2 separate regions of the Homo sapiens genome follow, and region 2 is linked to region 1. Evidence: promoter capture Hi-C in human tissues and cell types (Jung and others, 2019). All regions are on one chromosome and are shown on one strand. Each heading gives the region's core, a stretch centred on a gene start or on the middle of the fragment in contact. The rest is flanking DNA. Distances are from core to core; before and after follow the strand shown.

Region 1 (7,635 bases), core at 4,841-7,340:
CATGCACTGTGGCTACTAGTCTTTTTGTTCCTTTTGGGTAATGGAAGGATGAGAGAGAGGAAGAAAGGGAGGGAGGCTAGATAAAGAGAGGACAAGCAAAGGAAAACTATTAAAGACAGGAAAGAGGTACAGTTATTGATGTGAAGGATTTTTCAATCATGTTTCTTAGCAAGAGAATTCAAGGCAGGAAAATAAATTCATAGGAACAGCAGAACAAGAGCTTAGCCCTACGTCGAATGTGACAGGGCAAGTGCAAGGAAGGGATTGCAAAGGATGCAAGGGGGATGTACGAAGAGAGGACAGGCTTGTGCAAGACAAAAGGAGAACGGTGTTGTCCCTGCACCCCCTCCCATACCTGTGAATAGAGGCTGCCATGGGCTCAAAGCTCATTTTCTGAGCCAAGGACAAAACCTTAGCTCCCGAGATTGGCCCTAATGATCCATGCTAGTGGGCCACAGACTCCTTCCATCAAGTGACCTTAGCTGGTTATCTCCATGGTAACAGCACACATCCCAAACTGTTCCTTCCTGTGTGGGAGGAAACATTTCAGAAATGGGGGAAGGCTGAATTTAACAGTGGTTTTTCCCTCTTGTGACCCTTCTCCTTTGGCAAAGCGTGCACTTTTTCTGAGCACACAGCAGTCTCCTGAGGAAAGCGTCCATAGAAGAGGATGTTTTGTGACTTTATTTGCAGATGCATGCCCAGGACACATTTTTAAAGTAGAAGCCTGAATCTGCTTTTCTTTGAGTATTTCTCAGGGCGTTCCACCGTTCTTTGAACAACTCCCCAAAGAGAAAAGCCAGCATGCTGTCTTCTTGTTGAAAGAGAGAGCTCAGAAAGGTTAGGTAGCTTCCCCAGAGCTACAAGCAACATGGTAGCAGAGTTAGGCTAGAAAGCCAGACATAACAAGGCTGAGGCTCCACTGGCCACTATTTACACCCTACCTCCCCGCGTTTCAGGCGTAGCCTGAGCCACCATCCTGACCAACTGGCTGACAGGTCTCCCTCCAGCGCTAGACTCTGCCTCTAGTCCCATGACCGATGATATGTCCTGTGATTTTCTTCAGCACAGTACACAGACTTTAAGGAAAGGGCATGAGGCAAAAGTATGCTCTGCCTGAAGCTGGAGTTTAAGTTACATTTTAAGCTCAATGTTCTGTTTGTTCCACAATGTCTACGGTCAGAGCAGCATTTTACAGGATGATAAATTACCCTCGTTTAGCTGAATCCTAGAAGTGCATGTCTGACCATGAAACCCTCCAGTTGCAGCTCTGAAAGGCACCAGGGGGTCCACTTTCCAACCAGAATCATGAGCCAAGAGCATTCATTCCTTGGCCTGACTTCAGCCTTTCCCAGTAGATTTGATCCCATGATTCTACCAGTGAAAGAAATCTTCTACTGTGTAACATCCCTGCCTGACTCTGACGTACAAAGGTGTAATTAGAACAGTGTGGAGCAGGCAGGATGATCCATTTACCTCATCCCTAACATTTAAGTGCTTTCAAAATATGTTTTTAATATCTTAGGTGCACAGGGCCAAATTATCCTCTCAGTTTTTCACATGCATGAGTAAATCCACACAGACTAAACCCCTTGGGCCTTAGGTTCTGCTTAGAAATTCTTTTTTTTTTTTAAAGAAAACAAATATCCCATTAAAACGACAAAGTGTACTCTGCATATTTTTAGGACAATTAGAGTTTAGAATTCCCTCTCCTTCCACCCATGGCTTAAAAAAATAGAAAAATTCTTAACCATTTCCTTACGAAGAACGACATTAAACTGGGACAAATGGAAAGGCTCTCTTGCCTTTTACAGCAATCTTCTCATCTTACATCATCAAAGTACCAACTGATGGATCAGGGCCCTCGATATTGTTTGGGAAGGATCCAGGCTCCACTGTACTGTTGCCAGGTAAATTTTTTAGGTAGACAGTTACTAGTGAACTGAAGGGAAACACTTACTTGAAACAGAAAAGCCAATCTCACAGGAAACAGAGAAACATAAAAGTAAGGATGCTTCCTACCATTTGCTTGATTCAAAAACAGGTCATGCAAATAAAATTATGAAGAAGAGGCTGCCGCAGGCTGGCCACGGCCTCAGCCTGTGGGCAAGAGATACAGACAGACCAAGTGGGAGGGGCTGGAATCAGTCCCAGTCTGAAGGAGACCAGGAGAGGGAGGAGAGTCAACCCCAGCCCCACACGTCGTGCTTCACTGTGTTGGTAAGTTTGTGTTGCTGTTCATACAGCAGCTCTTTGCCCATTAGCAGGTGCTGCTGGGCCACATGTGTGGATAATATTTGCCAAGCCAACATACAGGTCAAACGTTTTCTTGCAACCAAGCTTGGAGCAACATCTTAGCAGCAGTTGACCTGTCACTGCATGTTCAAAGTCCAAAGACTCCAGGGCTGCCATATTTAAACAGAGAAGTCCATGTAAGACCATCTGCAGCTTGTTTTCCATTCATTACAAAGCATTTCAAAGGATGAAAAGCCAAGCCTCATTCACCCCATGGTTCAGACAGAAATAAGATACGCCCTCAGGAGATACTGACTTGGGAGAGGAGCAAAATCCAGAGATGTCTTGGGAAACGTATCTGTGATGTCTTCGAAACTAACAATTATATTGAAAAATCAAACAAAGAATTCATGACTTCCCAGGAGGGAAAAAATGTGTTTATTTATTTAAATTAAAAAATATTGTGAAAATTACAAAGTGTTAAATACAAAAGACAATTCTATACAACTCAACAGAATAAGAAGGAAGTATATACATCACTTTTTAATAGGTGCAGAGAGACTTGCACCAAACTTCAGGATTAAGCAATGGAAAATGTGACAAGGCACATGTCCGTCGCAGTGAAATTTCAGAATTCAAGTGATTCCAGGCAAGAGGCCAAACTTAACTTGGCTTCTTTCAACTTAAACAGCCCCCTTTGGCATAAGTCCACACTGAATTTTAAAGTGAACAGAGGGCCTTTTTCCCCCAAACATAAATTTCCTTTAGCTGTATGTCAAAGCGGACTGATAAACCAGCTCCTACACTGTTAACCCTTCCATGGCAACAGTAGTTATTGCTGTGTCTCCAATCCATGCAGAGCATTTTTCTTTAAAAAAAAAAAAAGTGGCCGGGTGCAGTGGCTCATGCCTGTAATCCCAGCACTTTGGGAGGCCGAGGTGGGAGGATCATTTAAGGCCAGGAGTTTGAGACCAGCCTGGCCAAAATGGCGAAACCCCATCTCTACTAAAAATCAAAAAATTAGCTGGGCGTGGTGGCAGGCGCCTGTAATCCCAGCTACTCAGGAGGCTGAGGCAGGAGAATCGCTGAAACCCAGGAGGTGGAGGTTGCAGTGAGCCAAGATTGCACCACTGCACTCCAGCCTGGGCAACAGAGCGAGATTCTGTCTTAAAAATAAAAAATAATAATAAATAAATAATTTTTTTAAAAGTTTTTTTAAATAGATTTAAATTTGACCTTTTACTTCCTCCTTGTCTTTAAGGGCCTAACGGATCTGCGAAACTGTTGACCACAGGAATACTTGGAGACATTGGAAGCATTCCTGTGTGTTTTCCTTTAGACTTTGCTTTCCCTTAGCTGGGAGTGTTAACATCACACATTCTCCAGAGAACTTTGCAGAGGAGAATGTGGTGTCTGCCTCTTTCCTTCAGTCCTGGGAAAACTACAGCAGGGCTGGGTTGGTAGCTTGCCCTGAATTCCCCAGTTATATGTGTTCTGAATCTCCAACTGCTCCTTTAAATCAGCAGATCCTTGTTCAGACTAACCGGCCAAAGGGGAAGCATTTGGTCCAAGCTTCCTCACACCAGGCTGTGGAATATTTATCACAGAGTCCTAAAATCTAAAGACATCCTCCCAACCCCCTGGGGATGGAGATCGTCGGGAGCCTCATGCAGACAGCGAGCTTCTTGATGACATGCCCGGGACCACACAGCAAATGAGTGTCAGGGCTCGGGATCAGGAAGCACAGAACTTGGAGCCCAGCTTTGTGCAATCTCCGCCTGAGTATGCCCTTCTAGGTCTCAGCTACGTGACGAAATACCACATTATGTCCTCTCCCAGCTCAGAAAACTAGGCTGGGAAACTGAGCAGCAGCAGAGCTAACGGCTTGGCCTTGTTCAACCCCACTTTACCCCTTCTAGAAAGATCAGGAAGAGTCTCCTGAACCACCATCGGGAGTGCAGGTTAGATTCTGGGGAAGCTCTTCTGATCCAAAGAACGTCATGCCATCATGTGATGCTGCATGGTCACAGGTCAGAGTTCAAGGTCATAAGTTAGACAAAAGGTCAAAATAGAAGATCATCTCTTATAACCCCGGCCAATGTTAACAGGTTTAAAAGTTACTTTTTTTTCTTATAGTGTGCAAATGGGCTGGGTTCAGATCTCCAGCTTTCTCCCATCAAAAATCCCCCTCTAATCCAAAAGAAGCTTGTAACCCACTGTGAAGGAATGCCACAGGTACACAGTAGAGATACTTACAGCCAATCAGATCTAGAAGGACAAAGCTCTAGGCAAAATAGCAAATCACAACTAGTCTCTCAGCGTGTCCTAAGCATTCGGCAGCCCTGGGAACAGGCAGACCCTGCAGGAGCTACCCAGGGCATCCAGTGAGAAAATGGCAAACATATCATCCCGCCAAATTCTGATCAGAACCCCAACACCCAGGCCCCAAAGTCAGTGTACGCGCTGCGCATCTCCGCGGCTTTTTCAGTGGTGGGTGCAAACCACAGGCACCTCCCGGACTCCTTGGAGGTGCTGGTTCCGGCTGAGCCTAGTCCCCCACCCCACCCCGAATCAGGGGTTTACCAAGGGTCTCTTCAAAGTGGCAGCCGCACTGTGAAAGTGAAACCAGACACTTGAAAACTGTCTTTCCTCTCTCTAAGGTTGCTGGCTGATGGAGCCACCGGCAGGGGTCCCGGGGGTGCTAGGAATTCTGATGGATGTTCTCCGAGGACCCTTCGCTGCTCTCGTTGAGGGGCGTCTCCGAGGTCTCCTCCAGCTCATCGTCTGCCCCCTCCTCCTGAATGGTGAGGTGCACGTCCGGGGAGGAGGACTCGGAGCTCACGCTGTCCCCTTCCATGGAACAGAGGGTGCAGGACAGCGCGGGCGCCACGCTCTCCTGCAGCATGTTCAGCATCAGGGGCACCTGCACCGACCTCAGGCCCGACACCACAGGCAGCGGCTTCATGGCCTCCCCCCAGAGCCGCTCCTCGTCTTTGTACAGCAGCAGGAGGCTGGACTTCTTCTCCCGCCTCTTGGATTTCATGTAGCCCAGCATGATTCCGATCAAGAAAATGCCGTAGAAGGACATGACAACCAGAATGTAGAAGTACTCGTTGCCATTGCCGCTGCCGCCGCCGGCCGCACGGGACTCCAGGGGGCTGCTGGAGGCGGCGGTGCCGGGGTGCGTGCTGTTCAGAGGCTCCATTTTCAGCATTGAGGCTGCCTCCACAGCAGGGGCTGGGGAAAAAGCCGCAGGTTAGAACTCTCCCCCAGGTCCTGGGCACAGGGAGGTGGGGGAGCACGAGGTTTGTGGAACTGCAATACCAAAAAAGCTTAAAAGTGCATGAAAGAAATAGCATAAGAGGGTTCGCCAAACAGCTGACAAGAGTGAGCTATGAGGGCTTGGAGTGCACGGGAGAGAAGCCCGGGAAGGTTCACTGGGAAAAGTAAGAAGGACTTTTTTTTTTTTTTTTAGTGTACACATTTGTCCTGTTTGTAGTGAGCAGTATTACTTTGATTAAAAAAAAAATCAATGTAAGACAGGAGCATACAGTAAATAGTATCTTTAAAACTGGGAAACGTATTTTAACTGAGCAGAAACAAAGTTTACATTGTGTTTCCAAAACCAAACTATTTTAAATTCAAAACAATGTTTCCTTAGAACAAAGAAAAGCAGGAAGAAAATAAAGGAAAAAAATTCATCTATTAATTGGCAAAAATGTCCCTCTTTCAAATGTTTCTGAAAGCAAAGTGTAGCCTTGCTGACTTACCAAGGCTGACAGTTTGTCCCAAGTTTTGAATTCCCAAATCGTCCAGTCCAAGAGGGTTCTTCTGCTCTGTCCGGCTCTGCGCTCTGACAACTCCGCTGCTGCAGTTGGGATATATAGTCAAGAAGTGCATCGTCACGTGCTCTGGGAGGAAAATTTACAACAGAGATTGATCGTGGCAGAGTGAGCAGTGAACTGAAAGCACTGCAGTTCAACTCCCTGAACTTTGCAGCTGTGAAAAGTGAAAAAGACTGGGAAGTGGGAACTGCTCCTCAAGCCCCAGCACCCGGCCAGGGTTTTCAGGTAGCGGTGACGATGAGTGAAAAGAGGAGAAAGGGATGTGCTGTGCTGGAACCGTTACCCCAAAGTCCGCGCTCACTGAAAATTAGCTCATGCTTCGCGCGGCTCCTGGGGAATAACCATTATTGGGCTACAGGTTTTCAGAGGCAGCTGAATCCCATAATCTGGATGAAAGACAGTTGGAAGCAAGTGCGGGATTTACAGTCAAGGAACTGGGGCTTCGGTTTCAGTTCTTCCACTCCTTATGCAAATAAGATAAATCCTTCCTTAACCTCTCCGCACCTCACATTCCTCGTCTGTAAAATCGTTGTGCCTGGCGGGGGGGGGGGTCTTCTGCAGGTAGGATTATATAAACCACGTGACCTTTTGAGACCCTTTCAGCTTAACCCTTCTAAGATTGAAGGCTGCCTGGTGTTGCTTAGCCCTCTAAAAGCAGAGATTCTAGCTGCCTTCCACATCAAGGTCACAAACCTATGTTTATAATAATTTTTTTTTAAAAGCTCCCACATTCTTTTCAGTGGTCTGCATTAAGTGGAAACATGTTGTCGTAAAAGATACTATGGGCAGGTTTTGTTCCGTCCTGCCATACACAGCTGCTCCTCTGAAGCCTCATGCGGAGGCTATTGACACGTCTCTTTGCTGTCTCTCGTAGGTCAGGGGAGGAGCAGGACTATTTCAGAGTGCAACTAAGCACAGTTCAAGTTTTTTAAACCTCGGTAGACCCTGTGTTTAAATGGCTGCTGTGATCAAAATTGGAAGAGGAATTGCAGGCTTTAATGTCAGTCTCTCTGCTCCCTGGGCTGCTTATTCTGAGGCTTTCATGCTAAGTGGAAGGAAACTGGGAGAGATCCACTCCCTCCAGTTGTCTGTGGCCTGTGGATTGCAGCCAGACTGTCTTGTGGGCCAACTCTAAAGGAAACATCTCTCATGGTTCTGCTGTAGTCAAACTGACGCATGCGACATCCACCTGACCTGCTTGAACATATATAGCTTAGGCACTGGAATTTTCACTGCTGCTACAGGAACCCCCCTGGGTTTGCACCTGATCCTGATTCTAAGAAGACACCTGGAGGAAGAATAGGAAGATGAACTGAATGCTGCCATTTTTCCCACTTGACTACTCACCTGTGTTCATCCATAAATCCCCAGCTGGCACTGGAGGTACCAACCATCGACCACTCCAGCATCACGATCATCCATACAGTGGAACTGTGCTCACACCAGTAAAGATACCCTCACCATTGTGTTAATACGTAAAACCCTCCATAGCTACCTCAGCCATGGTAGACTTGGTCTTTTCAACAGGTGTCCATCATAAACACTAGAACACTTC
Region 2 (6,798 bases), core at 653-3,152, 410 kb before region 1:
GTATTCGTCCACAAATCTCTTTCGTTTGTTTCTTAAAATCCTTAAATTGTGTATGAATATTACCTGCAGGAAATAATGCATGCATAACAATTCTACTTCTTTAGATTAAAAACAAGCTATTCCTCTCCTTTTGAACCACTTAAAAATTGCCTATAATCTAATGTGATTCAATAAATCTATAAAGCTTGTGTGCTCCCAGTAGCAATTGAGATAAAGCAGCAAGTGTGGCTGCCATTGGGGTCAGTTGGCAGCACCTGGTTGCCATGGTCACGGGCTCTTTAAAAATGGAGCAAATACTTAATGAAACACTATATCCTTCTCCTCAGCACTAGTCATTTATAGTATTCAAATATTTACAGGTATAGCAGACTCACTGAGTTTCAAAAATATAAAAATGGTCCTGCTTCCTAAAAAGCATATATTTGCTACTAGCAGTAAAAAGGACTTAAATAAATCAAATTCTTGCTTTTGACAAGCAGATGCTAAAAGAAAACTAAAATATCATCTTCTAGGACTTGATTTTAGTTTACCTTCAGAGATCATTCACTTCCCTACCAAAAGATTGACTTCATTTTTTAAAATTAGTTATGGATTACATCCATTTGGTGAATAAGGGTCCTACGATCTTTCTCTCTGCTTATTTACACTTAATATTAGTGACTATTAACATTAAATATAGATGTATTTTATGTCACCACAGATGGAGATTTCCATTTGAGATATCTTAGACTTTCAAATGACTTAGCAAACATCAAGCAGCCAATCGTTTTTCTCCAAAGATCCTTCTGCTGTGCTTTGACTCAGAGAGCCTAGAAAATTCTGAAGTGATGCTTCATTAGAAAAGTGTGGTAAATTCCAGAGGCGTACATGAGGAAAATGTAATTCTCTAGGTAGATTTATTTTTCTCTTTTCATTGGGGAAAGTTGTGAGGAGGTAATAAATTGGAGAACAAATTTGTGGTTGATTGAAGTTTCTCTGCTGCTTTCTGAGACAACTAGAATAGCTCAATGTAAACACACATTCCAACATTTATCCCAGGCAAAAATTATATATTTTAATACTGAAATTAGGAGAACAGTCGTTACTTTGTAGTCTATTGGTCTCTAGATGACAGGAAAAGATGAGCTCCCTCTGGTGGTGAATTTAACAATAATAATAAACAAATGTTATTGTTTAATAACTAAAAGACCTGATTGAATTTAAAGGATCATTCGGTTGTCAGCAAGAGGCATCCTCCAAATTACCATTTTAGATTCTTTCCCAGGCTCTGGTTGAGGGAAATAGGTCAACACAGAATATTTATCCTTTTATTTGGCTAGAGTCATCTGGGATTTGAAGTAAAAAGGTGACTCAAAAATCCAGGGGTAAATGTTTTGTCATCTAGTGCCTCTCTCTCATTCACTCACTCTCTCATTGAGTGTCCCATATGGGGAAATACAGGAATCTTGTGGGCTGAAGCTGCAATGCTGAGAAACTGACCTATTCTCCACCATCATTGTAGTTTATGGTGAATTGGCATATCCTTCTTGTCTTTGTGGTAGTTGGAGGAGGGATTCGTTGGTATTAACTTTTCTTCCGTTATGTGCAGCAAGCAGGATTTTACCCTGTTCTCTTGACTTTGTATAAAGGCGTAAAATTGTATACATTATATAGTTTTGCTGTTATAGAAGGAGGTTCTGGAATGGAGTAGAGAAAAACAAATGTGATCAGTCTGCTTTGTATACCATCTCTCCGCATTTTAATTAAAAAAGTATTTTTATACAGAATTGCAAAGAGGCTTAGATGTGATACATACTTTATATTTGGCTTTAAAAAATATGAAATTGGAACATCGAATAGAGGCTACCTTATAAAGTAATTATCTATAGTAAGTCCTTCCTCTGGGCAGCAGCTTTCCTTTTTAGTTCTAAATTTAAAGCCTTGAATGCAGGTTTTATCACTCAGTTTTCACATATATAAAATAACTAGAATGAAGACTATGAATTCACAATTACTCAAGAATCTATTCTTCTTTACAGCTTCTTGGGTTAAATTTTTTAATTTATTCATTAATGTAGTTATTAAAATAAAAGTTTTTAGGCTATCATTGAAAGGAAAGAGTAAAAATTTTAAGGCACCAATATTTTTGTGAAAATTAAATTTCAATGAGGAGTATATATTACTTTGCAGCATGATTGTGCATACATGAAGCATTCAATAAATGATCTTCATTTTTTAAAAATTCTAACAGCAAAAACATTCTGGCTACCACGATGTTTCTTTCTCAAAATAATATTCTTGAAGTTACAGTTTGATCCTGTCAAAATAAGACAAACAAATAAAAAACACCTGTCTTTCATATTATTATGACTTGAAGACTTAAAGTCGATTCCATCAAACTAAGACAGACATATAAGGAATCATATTCTGTCAGAATTATGGGAAAAAGATAAAGTCCTTTTGATGAGAATTGAAATGTGGTTTTCCTTTTTTTTCCTGTCAGAGTAAGGAAAAGACTGAGAGGCATATAATTTGAAATTTCTATATATCATACCATATATATCAGAAAGGTAAACCATCAGGGCTTGAAGCTGAATGCAGTGGTTGCAAGAGCTGGCTGTGCATCAGAATAACCTGGGGAGCTCATTAAAATCACAGAATCCTAAAGCTGCCTCCAGAGGGTCTAACGCAGCAGGTCTAGGGTGAGGCCAAGGTATCGATACTTTTGACAAGTGTCCTCCCATGACTCAAGCAGGGGCCCACCAGCAATATCCCAGAACCATTCCTCTCCACGGCTACCCCTTCTTGACTCTGAAATTCACATCCAAATAACAATAACTGTACTGCTATTGCCACTTTGTAAGAGGACCCTTCCTTGGCCATCCTACATGAGGAGCACTGCCCCATTACTCTCCATTGCCTAATCTTGTGTATCAGTCAGGATAGGCTTGGCTATGCTCCAAATTTTTATTGGCTTTAAATAATGAAAGTTATTTTTTTACTCACATTAATTTTCCAAGTATGGCAACACTTTAGCTAAGGCACCTTCCATGTGGTGGCTCAGCACTTCAGTTTTCTTCATCTCATGACACCTTCAAGTCAACATATGCTTTCCTGATTGCCACATCAAAGGAAGAAAGAGCTGGAGAGCTGAACACCAGCCATCCAATACTTTAGCTTGGCAGTTGCATTGCCGTTCTACTCACATGTTACTGGCTAGAACTAGTCAAATAGTGATGAATGACCAAGAGGGTGGAGAAGTACAACCCACATATACTCAGAAGTACAGGAAATCCAGATGTTTATTAGCAATGTTTATCCCACGATGTTTTATTTTTGTCTATCACACTCACCTATTTCTCATATCTTCTCCATCAATTTGTTCTTTCGATTTGTTTATTCTTGTCTGTCTTCTCACTAAATTGAAAAGTTTTTGAGATCAGAATCTTTATCACCAATGACTGTTACTCTGCCTGGGTTACAGTGAGCACATGAAGAAATGGATGAATACATGCAGAAGGAGGGTTACCGAATAGAATTCAGTCAGTCATTTAAATTAGGATAATAAGGGGGAAAACATCCCAGATACAATAACTGTTTGTTTCTTTAGCCTGTTTATTTCTTTAATTAGTTGATTAAACATTCATTGAGTACCTACATTCTTCAAGGCACACAAAACTGATTGTACCAATATAATCATAATCACACCTCAGATTTACAGTATCTTCTGGAAAAGAGGATTATAAAACACTAGAATCTTGTCATCTAATGATAAACTAGCAGTGATTACCTGTCTTACAAAAGCTTCATTATTTTCTAGACAATCCACACTAGGATTCCTCTCAACAGCAATCTCCCCAGAACTTATGATATGATTCAATTACATACAAGCTCTTAGGAATATATCTACAAGTCAACCACGGTTTAAGTAATGCTTTTGTTCTAAAGAGGTTCTCAGTGGGAGTAAGGAAATCCAGTCAGAGAGCTTTGGGAGCCATATTGGTTCTTCAGTGTATTTTCTCTCATTTCTAAATTCCCTCTAGTGTCCAAAAATAATACAGCCCATTGATATTGGTAGTGAATACCACGCCATCAATTTGAAAGTAGCAAATGAAACATTTTAAATATTCTTTTGAAAAACACAAGATAAATCTTTTAATTGAAAACTGTGTTAAAATGATATTCCTAATTTTTTTTCAAACACAAAAAGTATCTGAAAGGAAATAAACACAAATGGCTCATTAGCTCACTGTAACCACCTTTGCTATTAAAAATAATTGCATACAATGTATGCACATGGTCAGAAATTCAAACAGTATGGGAAGGCACGAAACAAAGATAGAAAGCCTCCTTTCTCTCCACCTTCAGTCTTACTCCTCTAAAGTAATTCCCATTAAAATGTCTAATGATTAATTTCAGGAAAAGTAGACAATCATATGTATCTTTAAGCATGTATAAATCTATATATTATGTTGCCTTTTTATAAATTATATAAAAGGTATCAAATTATATAAGGAATTTTGCACCTTAATCTTTCTGCTTGGTCTTAAGTATATTTCCACATCACTACCTACAAATATACCTGTTTTTTCACAGTTCCATATTATTCCTCCATTTGGTTACACTCTAGTTTCCTAGTCTCATGTTGATAAACATTCTACTACTAGAAATAATCCTGTATTGAACATGCCTGTAAATATGTTTTGTGAATGAAGTTTTTGGGTATACCTAAAGATAAATGGAAATTTCTGAGTCAAAGAGTACAATATCCACAGTGGGTTTTTTTTTTGGTTTGTTTTTTGTTTTGTTTTGTTTTGTTTTTAGAAACAGGGTCTTATTCGGTCATCCAGGCCAGAGTGCAGTGCAAGATCATAGTTCACTGCAGCCTTGATCTCCTGGGCTCAAACAATCCTTCCCCATCAGCCTTCTGGAGTAGCTAGGACTACCCAACAAAATTTTAATTTTTTTGTAGAGACAGGGCCTCACTATGTTGCCCCAGGCTGGTCTTGACTCCTGGCCTCAAGCAATCCTCTCATCTTGGCCTCCCAAAGTTCAGGGAGGCCAAAAGTGAGCCACACCACATCTGGCTAAGATTCATAATTATCAAAATATTACTAAATTCTCCTCTAAAGAAGCTATACCAATTATTTTTGGAGGTGTTAGCTTTTTATTGCCTATTTCGCTATCTTAAACATGAAATTAATGGTAGTGGAGAAATAAAGAAATATTTAGTTAATTTGGAATCCCAAGTCCAGAAATTTTTGTTTGTAATAGGTTTTCCTGAAGTTTTAATAAATGAAGTCTCAATTTAGAGCTTTTGTTTAGAATGTAAGTAAAGTAGCCTATATAATTCTGGGTGGATCCTTGGTACAATAAGGTATATGATTGTCTTTTATTCAAAGGTACAGACTTTTCAAACATAAAAGGATGTTTTAAACTTTTCAATAAATCAAAGTTCTTGACATTAATTTAATTGAAGATATGTTTAGTGATAAAAAACACAATTCCAAGTATGGTAAATTTTTTTTTTTTGCGTTTTTACATGAGATATCAAAATATTCCTATTTAAACTCAAAATCTATTCACTGGGACTTTTTACCTACTTAATGTTACATATACTTTGGAAAATCTTGTTTAGCAGAAAAACATAATTCACTTAAATTTTCACCAAATCAACTTTTATAAGGCATACCAATTTAAGTGCATATATATTTAATACTTCTCTGAAAAAAGAAAGCTTATATTACTATTGTGTGCATATGCTTGTTTATATTTACCATTGTGTGCATTTATTTTACTTTTGTTAAAGTCAAACACTAATACAAACTGCCTAGTCACTATATTAACTAAAGCAAGTATGAAGATTTACAAGTGAAATGAAACAAAGGTTTATTTCAAGCAGCTGTATGTAATTTTTATTCACAAATATCAGCAGTAATCCACCTAATAATATTATCCTCTACATACATTAGGATTCAGTGCCTGAGCAGAATAATGTCTATTGCTAGGACTTTATCCAGATAATATCTATGCACTCATGCTCACATATAACAGTCAATCAAAATTTTCTAGTCCAGACAATATGAACCAGCCTTATTTACCAGCTACCTGAAAAACTTACTTTTATGGGCTGCATGTCTGAAACTCAAATATTAAAAAGAAATAAAAATAAAAAATAGATTGTATATGACATCCATACACAGATCTATATACCCACAAATAGTTTATCAGCTGTACTAATCTGTTAGGGCTTCCATAACAAAATACCATACGCTGGGTGGCTTGAACAATAGACATTTATTTTTCTGTCAGTACTGGAGGCTGGAAGTCCAAGATCAAGGTGTTGGCAGGGTTGGTTTCTTCTGAGGTCTCCCTCCTTGGCTTGCAGACGGCCGCCTTCTTGCTGTGTCTTCACATGGCCTTTTCATGGTGAGTGGGCCTCCCTAGTCTCTCTCTCTGTATGTCTTAATCTCCTCTTCTTATAAGGACACTCATCAGATTAGATTAGGGCCCACTCAAATGAACTCATTTAATCATCTCTTTAAAGGCCATATCTCTAAGTACAGTCATATTTTAAAGTACTGGGGGCTAGGACTTCAATATATGAATTTGAGGGGAAGCACAATATCAATTTACCTCAAAGCCCATAACACCAATCTACCTCAAAAATAATCTACGGTATTACAAATAATATGAAGAAAGGAATTTGCCTACACCAGAAGTTTAGGTAATGTTAATGAACAAGAATGATCTGGTGAATAGATAGGATAAATTAGGAATTATTCACACTTGTTCTATAGTGTATAGAAGAGTATAGTA

Evidence for each region. The method cuts DNA at HindIII sites, captures the fragments that hold promoters and counts their contacts. A contact is called where the count stands out against the background at its distance.
Region 2: a contact is called between a fragment that was not itself captured here and the fragment with the promoter of KCNE4 in region 1, in 1 of the 25 tissues and cell types used here (IMR-90 fibroblasts).

The regions. Positions count from the first base shown.
Region 1 is chr2:223,050,645-223,058,279 of GRCh38, reverse strand. It overlaps KCNE4 (potassium voltage-gated channel subfamily E regulatory subunit 4), which reads right to left and starts at 6,090. Exons shown (of 2, transcript NM_080671.4): 1 at 6,006-6,090; 2 at 2,643-5,472. The coding sequence starts at 5,449. The coding sequence ends at 4,937. RefSeq lists an enhancer at 5,235-5,782. The HindIII fragment of the contact is 5,924 bases long and covers 5,005-7,635 here.
Region 2 is chr2:223,453,871-223,460,668 of GRCh38, reverse strand. No RefSeq gene overlaps it. Among named protein-coding and RNA genes, the nearest start is that of SCG2, 150 kb to the left of the region's middle. The HindIII fragment of the contact is 5,697 bases long and covers 1-4,750 here.